2 separate regions of the Homo sapiens genome follow, and region 1 is linked to region 2. Evidence: promoter capture Hi-C in 16 types of primary human blood cells and fetal thymus (Javierre and others, 2016). All regions are on one chromosome and are shown on one strand. The core of a region is centred on a gene start or on the middle of the fragment in contact, and the rest is flanking DNA. Distances in the headings are between cores, read along the strand shown.

Region 1 (4,644 bases), core at 2,055-4,554, 510 kb before region 2:
GGATGGATGATACCAGCACTCCCTTGGCTGCCCCAGCTGGCCTCTCAGTATGTTGTGTGCCCCCACTCCAGTCCACTGTCTGTAGGCCTGGTTCAGCACTATGAGTCATCTAAGATTGGTGGCCCTTGTGGCCTAGACTGCCTTTCAAGTTTACTTGAAGACACAGAGTGCTGTAGCCCTTGATGGTGAGGTTTGAAGGTACTCAAGTTTGAACTGCTGGGATCAGTGATTCCCTTCATCCTAGGGCTCCTTTAAATGCTCCCTTCGTGGGTGGGCATCCGCTGAGTTTGGTGAATTTGATCAGCTGTTTTTCTTTCTCCTCTAACAGGACAGTATGAGTTTAGTGCCTCACAACTGCTGTGTTCTCCCTCTCCCAGCACCTAGAGAAGCTCTCTGCATCACACCTCTGCTGCCAGGGTGGGGTAGGGGTGGCATCAGCCATTCAGGAGTGTATTTTCTATTTATTCAGCACCTCTTTCAGTGATACGAAGTCATAACCAGGTACTGTGAGTGTTCACCTGATTTTTGGTTTGTATGAAGGTGTTTTTTTCTGTGTAGATAGTTGTTAACTTGGTGTCTTTGGTGGGGATGTGGGGAGGGAAAGCAATCAGTGGAGCTTTGTATTCTACCATCTTACTCCACCTCTCCTATGTATGTTTTCTTTTGTTGCCCATGCTTTTGGTATGAGTGTGGTAAGATATGGTGGTTTTATGGGGAAGAGATGGACAAGGAGGAAGGGATATAGCATGTCAAAACACCAGGCAAATTCAAATTTTACAGTAGTCATTTTCATTTCAATATGTGCCTTAGTTTCTCTCATGGGTCATAGGGAACTGTCCATTGGTTGCCTCCCTACACAGGGGAGATCTTCTGCCTCCCGGGGCCTCTTCAGAGCTCTCTCTCTTCCCTTTCTCTCTGTCTCTCTCTGTCTCTCTGTCTCTCTGTCCCTCTCTCTCTCATTACATTCCAAAACACTTCCTTTCCTAGGCAGACAAGTTTAGCCATTTTTCTTGGAAGCCTTGACTATTGCCCACAGAGCATTCAATCCCCAGGGGCTCAGAAACTTATATTTACAAATGAAGAGAATTCCCTCCCTAAGAGAAATTGTGACGACTATTAAGATAATAAGTTTCCACATCCTTAAAGAGGACAAAATTGGGGCAAGGGAGAAGGCCAGAGAAAGACATCTTTGTTTTGGATATTGCAGCAGGATAGTAACATGCTGGAGGTCCGCAATGGCACAAAGATCACAGGAGAAGCATCCATGCCAGATTTGGAGGGTATTCTAGTCATCTGCATGGAAAAATATCTCTCCACACTTGCCACCAGAAAACAACAGCCATTTATTTGCTTACAATTCAGACAGAGCACAGTGGGGATAGCTCATCTCTACTCCGCAATTTCCAGGCATGAGCTAGGATGGCTGACCAGTAACAGCTGGCTGGGACAATTTAACAGAAGCCATATGGGTAAGTTCTCATTATTCTCTGACTTCTTTGGTTCTCCTCCATGTGGTGCTTCCTTCAGCTAGCTTGTGCTTCCTCACAATATGGTGATTCCAAGGGAGCGGAACTTATATGTCAGCTGATTTTTCAGAGATATAACATGTAACCTGCTAGTCTTCTTTAGGTTTGAGCTCAGGATTCTTAAAACATAATTCTTGTTTCATAGAAAACCACAAGAGGGGAGCAAATAGATTCTACCACTTGAGGGAGCGGGGGTTCTTCATAAAATGGAAGTAACATGGAAAAAGGCTTCAGGTAGACACTTCTGATTATAAAGGAGGAATGTCCCAGAATGGGAATCAGGAAGAAGCTTTCTTTCCAAGTTGCATCCAGTCTTCCACACTTAAATTCTTAAACTTTCATTCCTCAGTAGATACAAGACACATTCAATTCTCTTTTTGAGTCCTGAACCACCAGCAAACATCACCTTACCTGAAAGCATTGTGGCAATTGTTCTTATTCTCTCCAGTATCGTGTTGTCTCTGGTGCTGGGGACATCAGGCATTCCACTGTGGGTTCTGAAAATCTGGGGTGAGCTTTATTCATTTTGGCCTCAGCTCAGATTTTTTGGAAAAGTGTTCCTCAAGATCATGGACAGAACCAAGGGTTCCACTGTGGAAAACCTACACTGGGGATTTTCATTGTTCTCTTTAAATGTCTAAGCTGTTTCTTCAGATCTGTGACAGCTGCCAGCCAGGATGAGGGATGGAGCTCATGAGGTGGGATGTTTTTCCCTGTTTCATTGTGCTTTATTGTACATAACAAAGGATCTAGCCAGCTGCTGTGTGGAAGAGAGTAAGATGCTCAGAAAGCCCTCTTTCTTGGTCTGTTATGCGATTCTGAGAAAGGAAGCTCAGGCAAGATCAATACATCCTCCGTGTGGACGTCAAATGGCTTGTGACATTGGTTCTTCAGGGCTGTTTTTTTAAGGATATTCCAGTCTTATGAGTTTGACATGAATTTGGCTTGATGCCCTGACAGAATGCAATGTAGGCATAATTTGATCTTCCTGTAATTGTCTATTTAACTTGGCAATCCAGACTAATTTTTTCCTGTGAAGTGAGCCCAAGACGTCACTAGGACAGTGGTTGGGTTAATTAATGAGGCATAATAATGTGCATAATAAAAGTTTATGATGCGGGTTCTCTTCCCACTATTTTCCTCTCCTTCACATAGAGAATTTCTGGTCCCACTGGAATCTGTGAGTCACGGTTTGTTAAAGGAGTTTTTTCTTGTAAACAACAGTAAGGAGAAAATAATAACTTGAGAACCATCTGTTTGATTGAGTCCTTGACTTTTTTTTTTGTTACCATTTCCCCCCATTGCATGTTAAAGGAAGTAAATAGGAAAAAAAAATTCTAATTATATTACTGTTTACTGATTATTGGATAACTTTTGTTGTATTTATTTTAAATACCATTCTGATCCACACCCAAAGCCTTAATCATCTTTCTGCTTACTGCTCCTTCCTACTCTCTCTTCTTTTTCTTTTTAATATGGAACTAATTACTTTAAACACTATTCTCAAGCTTGTTCAAATCCTTACCGCTCAGTGGCACCAGGGATAGATGTGGGGATAATAGCTTTCTTTGGTATCAACAGTGACTTGGGGAAAAGAAGTGTTCTTACAAGCGCCAATGGCAACATCAGAGGACACAAGGCATAAAAGATGGCTTTAAGTCTTAGCAGTTTCACCTGGTATGGCTGAGTTTGCAGAAATCATTAAACATTCTTTTCTTATCTGAAACCGTAGATTCAACAACTTCAATTCTATAAGTAGTTAAGCACGAATAATGTATGCAGCAAGGACTGAGCTAGACCTGGACTTGATAATATGCATATTAACTTTGCCTATCATAAGGAATCAAGTGATAAGATCCAGTGAGAGAAAGTAGATGAAAGTTCTCTGTAGACTACAAAGCACTGCCTAAGTCTGAGATATTATTGACACTTTTATCACAGTAAAGCATCTGATAGTTGAATTCACCCACTTACGATTTCAGGGCCAGTTGGTTACCTTATCATCTGGAGTTCAGCAAGGAAATAATAGTGTACCAAGCAAAGCTTGATGTTTGCATTTCTATGCCTAATCCTTTCCCTGAGTGGAGAAATGGTGCCTCTATGTTAGGATCCCCCACGGATGCCATTTTGCTGCTGTCAATGAGCACATGATCTACTTCAGTTGAAAATTCCTTGACTTCACCACTCCAAAATTTTTCTAAAAACTAGTGCCATTCTTGAGCAAAGTCAAATTTTGTTGAAAACAACTTTTGTTAAAAAGAAAGCATAGGCCAGGTGCAGTGGCTCATGCCTGTAATCCCAACATTTTGGAAGGCCGAGGCGGATGGATCACGAGGTCAGGAGATTGAGACCATCCTGGCTAACACAGTGAAACTCCTTCTCTACTAAAAATACAAAAAATTAGCTGGGTGTGGTGGCACGTGCCTGTAGTCCCAGCTACTCAAGAGGCTGAGGCAGGAGAATCTCTTGAACCCAGGAGGTGGAGGTTGCAGTGAGACGAGATTGCACAACTCCACTCCAGCCTGGGCAATGGAGTGAGACTTCATTTCACAAAAAAAAAAAAAACAAAACCCTAAACACTGTGATCAACCTGGCACACTGTCACATTCCTGCTCTTGGCTCTCATTGCTACCAATGTTTGGAAGTTGAAATCTTATTAGAACAAAAGTTTTGGATCAAAATTGTGCATTCCATGTGAGTCATAGGTGATGAAGTCATAATCCAACTTCTAGCTTGCCCAACTTCTTGAAACTAGGCATATCAGGAAACAACAGTATTCATAAAAGGAAAGATTTAACCTGCCCTGCTCCTCACCCTCATCAATTAAGTCACTTTTATACATATGAATAGTAACACTATTAGCTGTTATCCTCTCATAGATCCATTTCCAATTTGGGAGGAGTTATGACAAATGTTTATATTGCTGCTTCCAAATAACCTTAGAAATACTCTCTGCACATAGTATTTGTAAATTATGGTTAATTGAAAAGAATTTATTTTGAGAATTAGTCAAGGAGTTAGAACTATCAAAGAAGAAAAAGTGGATGTCACTAAAAAATATCACCTGGAGAATGAAAAATTAGGGCTTAGTATCACTGTTCTAACTCAAAGTGCAGAG
Region 2 (4,699 bases), core at 685-3,184:
TACCTGGAAACGTGTCTTGGAACTGATGCTGAACTGAATTTCTTGGGTTCGAGTTTAAGGGACTCAGGATTGCAGAAGCCTCGTTAATGGGATCTAGAGATGCGAAGAACTGGCCGGCCGAGGGCTGCAGGCCTGAGAGGTGCACCCCGGCGGGCCGCCCACCGGTTAGCAGGGAAGTGAGATCTGGGGACAAGGGAAAAGGATAGCAGGTTACATCTCGGGCACACTCACACTCTCCGCTGATTTGTTCCTCCCCTTCCCCTTGCCCTGGATTCACTTTTATTGAGCGAAGTCAAGAGAGAACCCGTCTAGGCGCTGAAACCTCTCTCTCCCAACAGTTGCCAAGGAGCGACGCACGAAAAGTTCCTGTGTGTCCCTCACGTCCATATGCATGTATATAGTAAGTAAAGGCTTTACATAAATCGGCTTACGGCCTCACTTTCACGTGTCTTCCAAGAACGCCACAGACGCAAAACCTCCGCCCCAAGGTGGCCCCACTCTGCCCGCTCATCTAGGCGGTTTTGTTTATTATTTACATTTCCTGGGTGAAATTTTTACTAGAAATCAGATAAGTGCGAAAGTGTTTCCCAAAAATGCTTTAGCTGTCAGAAAATATAATTCTGTCTCTAGATACATTATTAAAGAGATCAAAGTCATGTTAGCAGATAATTACACCAACCACTTTTATAAATATTGATTCTAAGACGTGTTTTTAAAGAATCCCTGGAGTCATTTTTTGTTTGTTTTACATAGAACAGGTGAGTTTTAGACCTAATGTTTTGTAGTTTTCTTACAATTCGTTTTCTTCTCTCCCGTTTTACCGATTTGTCCTTAATTGTAAAAACACTCAAAGGCACCCCAAGCCAGCCCGGGGTCCGGGGAGTGGGTCAGTGGTCAGAGGCCTGCAGCCTCCCGCCCAAGACCTACCTCTCAGCGTGTTGCCTTCTTTGACTTTTGGGTCAAATTCTGCAGATAAAATGCGGTCAATTCCAAATTTGAGGTCTTTGCTGGAGGGGGCCGGGGCAGAGCCACTGTGGTGGGGGTTCGGAACCACTCGCGTCCCCGAGGCCGGGGGCTGCAGGGCGCCAGCCCGGGGCGGAGGCGGAGGCTGTTGCTGCTGCGGCTGTTGCTGCTGCTGTTGTTGTTGCGGGTGATGGTGGTGGTAGGCGGCTGAGAGCGGAGACAGCCGCTGCGGGAAGCCAGCCGGGACTTCGGAGGGCGCCACCACTGGGGTGGGTCGAAGCGGGGATCTGGCCGCCGCTTGGAAAGAGGCGTGCGGGTGAACCGAGCCCAAGTGCGCGGTGAGGGCGGCGGCCGAGGCCCCTGCCAGGCCCTCCGGGGCCGCCCCCAGATCCCCCACGCCGGCGTGCAGAATGTCTGCGATGCAGAAGGAGGGCTTTTTGACGGCGGCGGGGTCCAAGGGGAAGGAGCAGCCGCCTGGGCCGGCCGAGGAGCAGTAAGCGGCCGACCAGAGGCTGAAGTTGGAGGCGTAGAAGGGAGCCAGCCCGGCTGCGAACATCCTGCCGGGGTGAGCCGCGCGGCTGCCGCAGTCCAGCCGGACTGGGTGGGTGGGCGCGCGGGGAGGGGCGCGCGAGTCCCGGAGAAGGCGGCGGCAGCCGAGGACGATCCGCTTTCGCTTCTCCGCCCGCACTGAGGAAGAGAGGCCGGGAGCCCTAGCGCCACCGAGGGAGGAGGCGAGGGCCGGATCTCGGCCGGTCACCGCCTCGCTCCCTGGCCTCGCTTTAAAGGCGGCGCGGCGCCCGCACTCCTCGCGGGCTGGATGAGAGCGAGGGGCGCTGGGGCCGCAGGGCGGGCGGGGGAGCCAGGGAGACGGGAGCCGGACACCGCAAGAAAACCCAAATAGCTAAGCCCTAAGAGCTAAATTTAAAACAACAACAATAATAGTCCGTTAGTTAGGGGGGGGGAAAAGTAATAGAAAAAAAAAAAAACTCGTCTCTAAAAACTCCCAAAGTTTTGGCAGGAGCTTTCGAGTCAGGCCCGGGGTAGGACCTCGATCCGAGCGCTCATTGGTCATCCTCGTGACCAATGGGAGCGGGGAGTGGAGGGGAATTAGGAACAAGGGGGCCTGGCCGGACCCTAGCCACGCCCCGGCCACGCCAAAGTTTTTGCTGCGGCCGCGTGGGCTTAGTAGCGCACATCGCAGTGCTTCTTGCTACTCTGCGTAGGGGCCAGGCAGCCGCTCCGGAGGGCTCTGACTCTCTTCTAACTTCTGCAGCTCCGAACCGCCACGGGGCAAGGAGGGTTGATCACAGGAGCTTTCCTGAAGCGCTTGTCACCCGGGGCGAGTTGGGGGCGTGGGGAAGGGACGGTAATCTCACTCTTTAGGGCTCTGCAAAGCCCGCCTCCCGGTGGAGAGCGGAGCGCGCTTTGGCCCCTTTGCTTCCCTTCTCTTGACCTCATTCTGCTTTTATTCCAGGAGTCCGTGTCCTCGGCAAAGCCCCTCATCTTTCCTGGGCCCTTGCCCAAATGTTGCCGCCCTGAGTCCCGGCCCAACTCAGCACCGCGTCCGCCTCGTGCCTCCCAGGAGATCCTCCGGGAAGCGAGGAGGAGGGGCGGCCGCAAATTGGTTTTATTCTGAGCTGTCACACAGTGACAAATTGAACGAGTGACTTTTCAAACAAAATAAGACGGATGGCTCCAAACGTCTCTCTTAGACGCAGCCAAACCTTTCCCCGGAGCCTCAGAGGCTACAAAACAGGCTGCCTCCCGAAACCCGGGAGAGCGGCACGCGCTTCCATCCTTTGCAGGAGGTTGTAGGAAATGTTAGCCTCACCCCTCCACCACATCTCCGGATCACGTGGGGTTCGTTGTTTTGCAAGTGCCCACAAGAGCAGATTTCCGTGGGGTTCAATACTGCTTTCAATTCTGTGACAGCTTCCCCAGGAACCCCTTGGGCCTGGTTGCAGGAGGAGCTGCGTGGTGGTCAACGTCTTCCATTCGTGCCTTGGGTCTTTAGAACGCAGGGTAGTGGTGGTGGAGGTTTTGTGCAACATCGACATATCTATTTTAAGAATTTCTTCTCTTTAAATTATAGTCAGAATGAATTTCCCCACCCCTCTCCCAAACAAACCACAGGCCACCCAGATGAGCTGTTCTTGCACATTTTCAGGAAGAAAATAAAATAATACGAATAATGAAACCACGAAAACTTTTGTTTTCGATTGCCCTAATAAGCATCTCCTAACAGGGATTCTGTGACATTTTTATTTCCCTTCAGCACGAAGGCTCCTCACCAAATAAACCCAGAAAAGCAAGTGAACTTGCCATGCCTATCTCGAGTTCAGGGTTTGGGCTTATAAAATTAATTTCTGGTGTTTTCTCTAGCCCCTTGATGCAGATGCTATCCTTTTAAGCTTTTGACTTTCTCCTGGAAAATTATCAATCACTTCTGATCAGCCAGCACTAAGATCTCTCCCTCTCCCTCTCTCTCTCCCTCCTCCCGCCCTCCAGCTCTCCCGCTCTCGCTCTCCATCTCTCTTTTACTGAAAGGTTTTCTTCCCCTGCTCCACGCAACCAGGAGAGAGGTGCTATTTCCAGAGATAGATGGGTGTGTTTGGCTGAAGGTAGGGGTACCTGGGGCGAGAGACGTATTAAGACCAGTTTTTCTGTGTCAAGGTGAAGGCAAAGGAGCGACAAGTACAACATGGGCAATTGAGGCGCTGGCTGAGGGTTCTGGTGAGCCTTCGGTGGGAGTGTGCGTAGCGGAGGCCGTGAGCCCTCTGCTTTCTAGTGCCACTTCCAGTTTGATTGCGTTTCTAATTTGACTGCAAACATTTAGACCTCAGCCTAAGCCCAAACTCACGGTTGTGAAAGAGGTGCATTTACTCCTTACCCGAGGCAGCGCCGCGCGCCCTCACCCTCTCTCTTAAGAAATAAGACTCCCCTATCAGCTTTCACCCTTTCCAAGGTTTGCGACGCTCCGGGGTGGGCACGGGATACAGACCCGGGGGAATGCGAGTCCTCAGGGTTCCCTAGGTGCCCACAACTCGCATCTGCCGAGATTCAAGGCCCGGAGCGCTGGGCAGATGCGGCGAAAGCGAGGCCCCGAGGCCCGCCGACTCCTCGCGGCGCCGCGAGCCTCCCTTTCTCCGCCAGGCCCGCGGCTGGAGTGCAAGTTGCAACTTCGCCTGCGCGCCCCTTGCTCTCCCAGGCCTCAGCTTCCTCGCAACCGCGTCGGCGCCATCCAAGGCCTTACTCCCAGCTCCCGGAGGCAAACGCGAAATACAAGTCTTTGGAGCGACCCCCGCCGCCCCCTCTACCCCTTCCCCAGGCCCAAGCCTGGCCCCTGCAGGCCCCTCGCCGAGTTCTGAGCCCGCAGACTCCCGCCCTCCTTACTCCCCACTCTTCAGAACCAAGAAAGCAGCAGGAAACCCTGGGCTCGCCGGAGTTCAGGTCATCTCCTGTTTTTTGATGGGCTCAAACTCGGGACTAAATGAGCGGATGTGCCTGCGAGATTGGTCTCAAAATAGAAGCGGCCTTAGTATTTTAGGATACTGCAGAAATCCTTATTTCTTCCGGAGAAAAACTCTATAATGACTCCTAGCACTTCCCCTTTCAATATTTGTGCAACTTTATCTCCACCGGCAAGTTGCTCGGGTGACGCAAATCCGCCCTTATGTATTACAACTACCAAAATAAATGCACGGAAATCAATTCCCTTCTAGCAATGAAAATATAA

Evidence for each region. Contacts are between HindIII fragments. The CHiCAGO score rates a contact against its expected background, and 5 or more counts as called.
Region 1: a contact is called between a fragment that was not itself captured here and the fragment with the promoter of HLX in region 2, in 1 of 17 cell types (endothelial precursors). The highest score is 10.6, in endothelial precursors.

What each region holds. Positions count from the first base shown.
Region 1 is chr1:221,392,167-221,396,810 of GRCh38, reverse strand. The region is part of intron 3 of LOC105372932 (a long non-coding RNA gene); the gene reads right to left. Among named protein-coding and RNA genes, the nearest start is that of LINC02817, 58 kb to the right of the region's middle. The HindIII fragment of the contact is 535 bases long and covers 3,037-3,571 here.
Region 2 is chr1:220,876,678-220,881,376 of GRCh38, reverse strand. HLX (H2.0 like homeobox) reads right to left here and starts at 1,934. Exons shown (of 4, transcript NM_021958.4): 1 at 928-1,934; 2 at 4-183. The coding sequence starts at 1,519. HLX-AS1 (HLX antisense RNA 1) reads left to right here and starts at 1,237. Exons shown (of 3, transcript NR_046901.1): 1 at 1,237-1,528. RefSeq lists an enhancer at 601-1,209 and a silencer at 2,328-2,377. The HindIII fragment of the contact is 7,579 bases long and covers 1-3,376 here.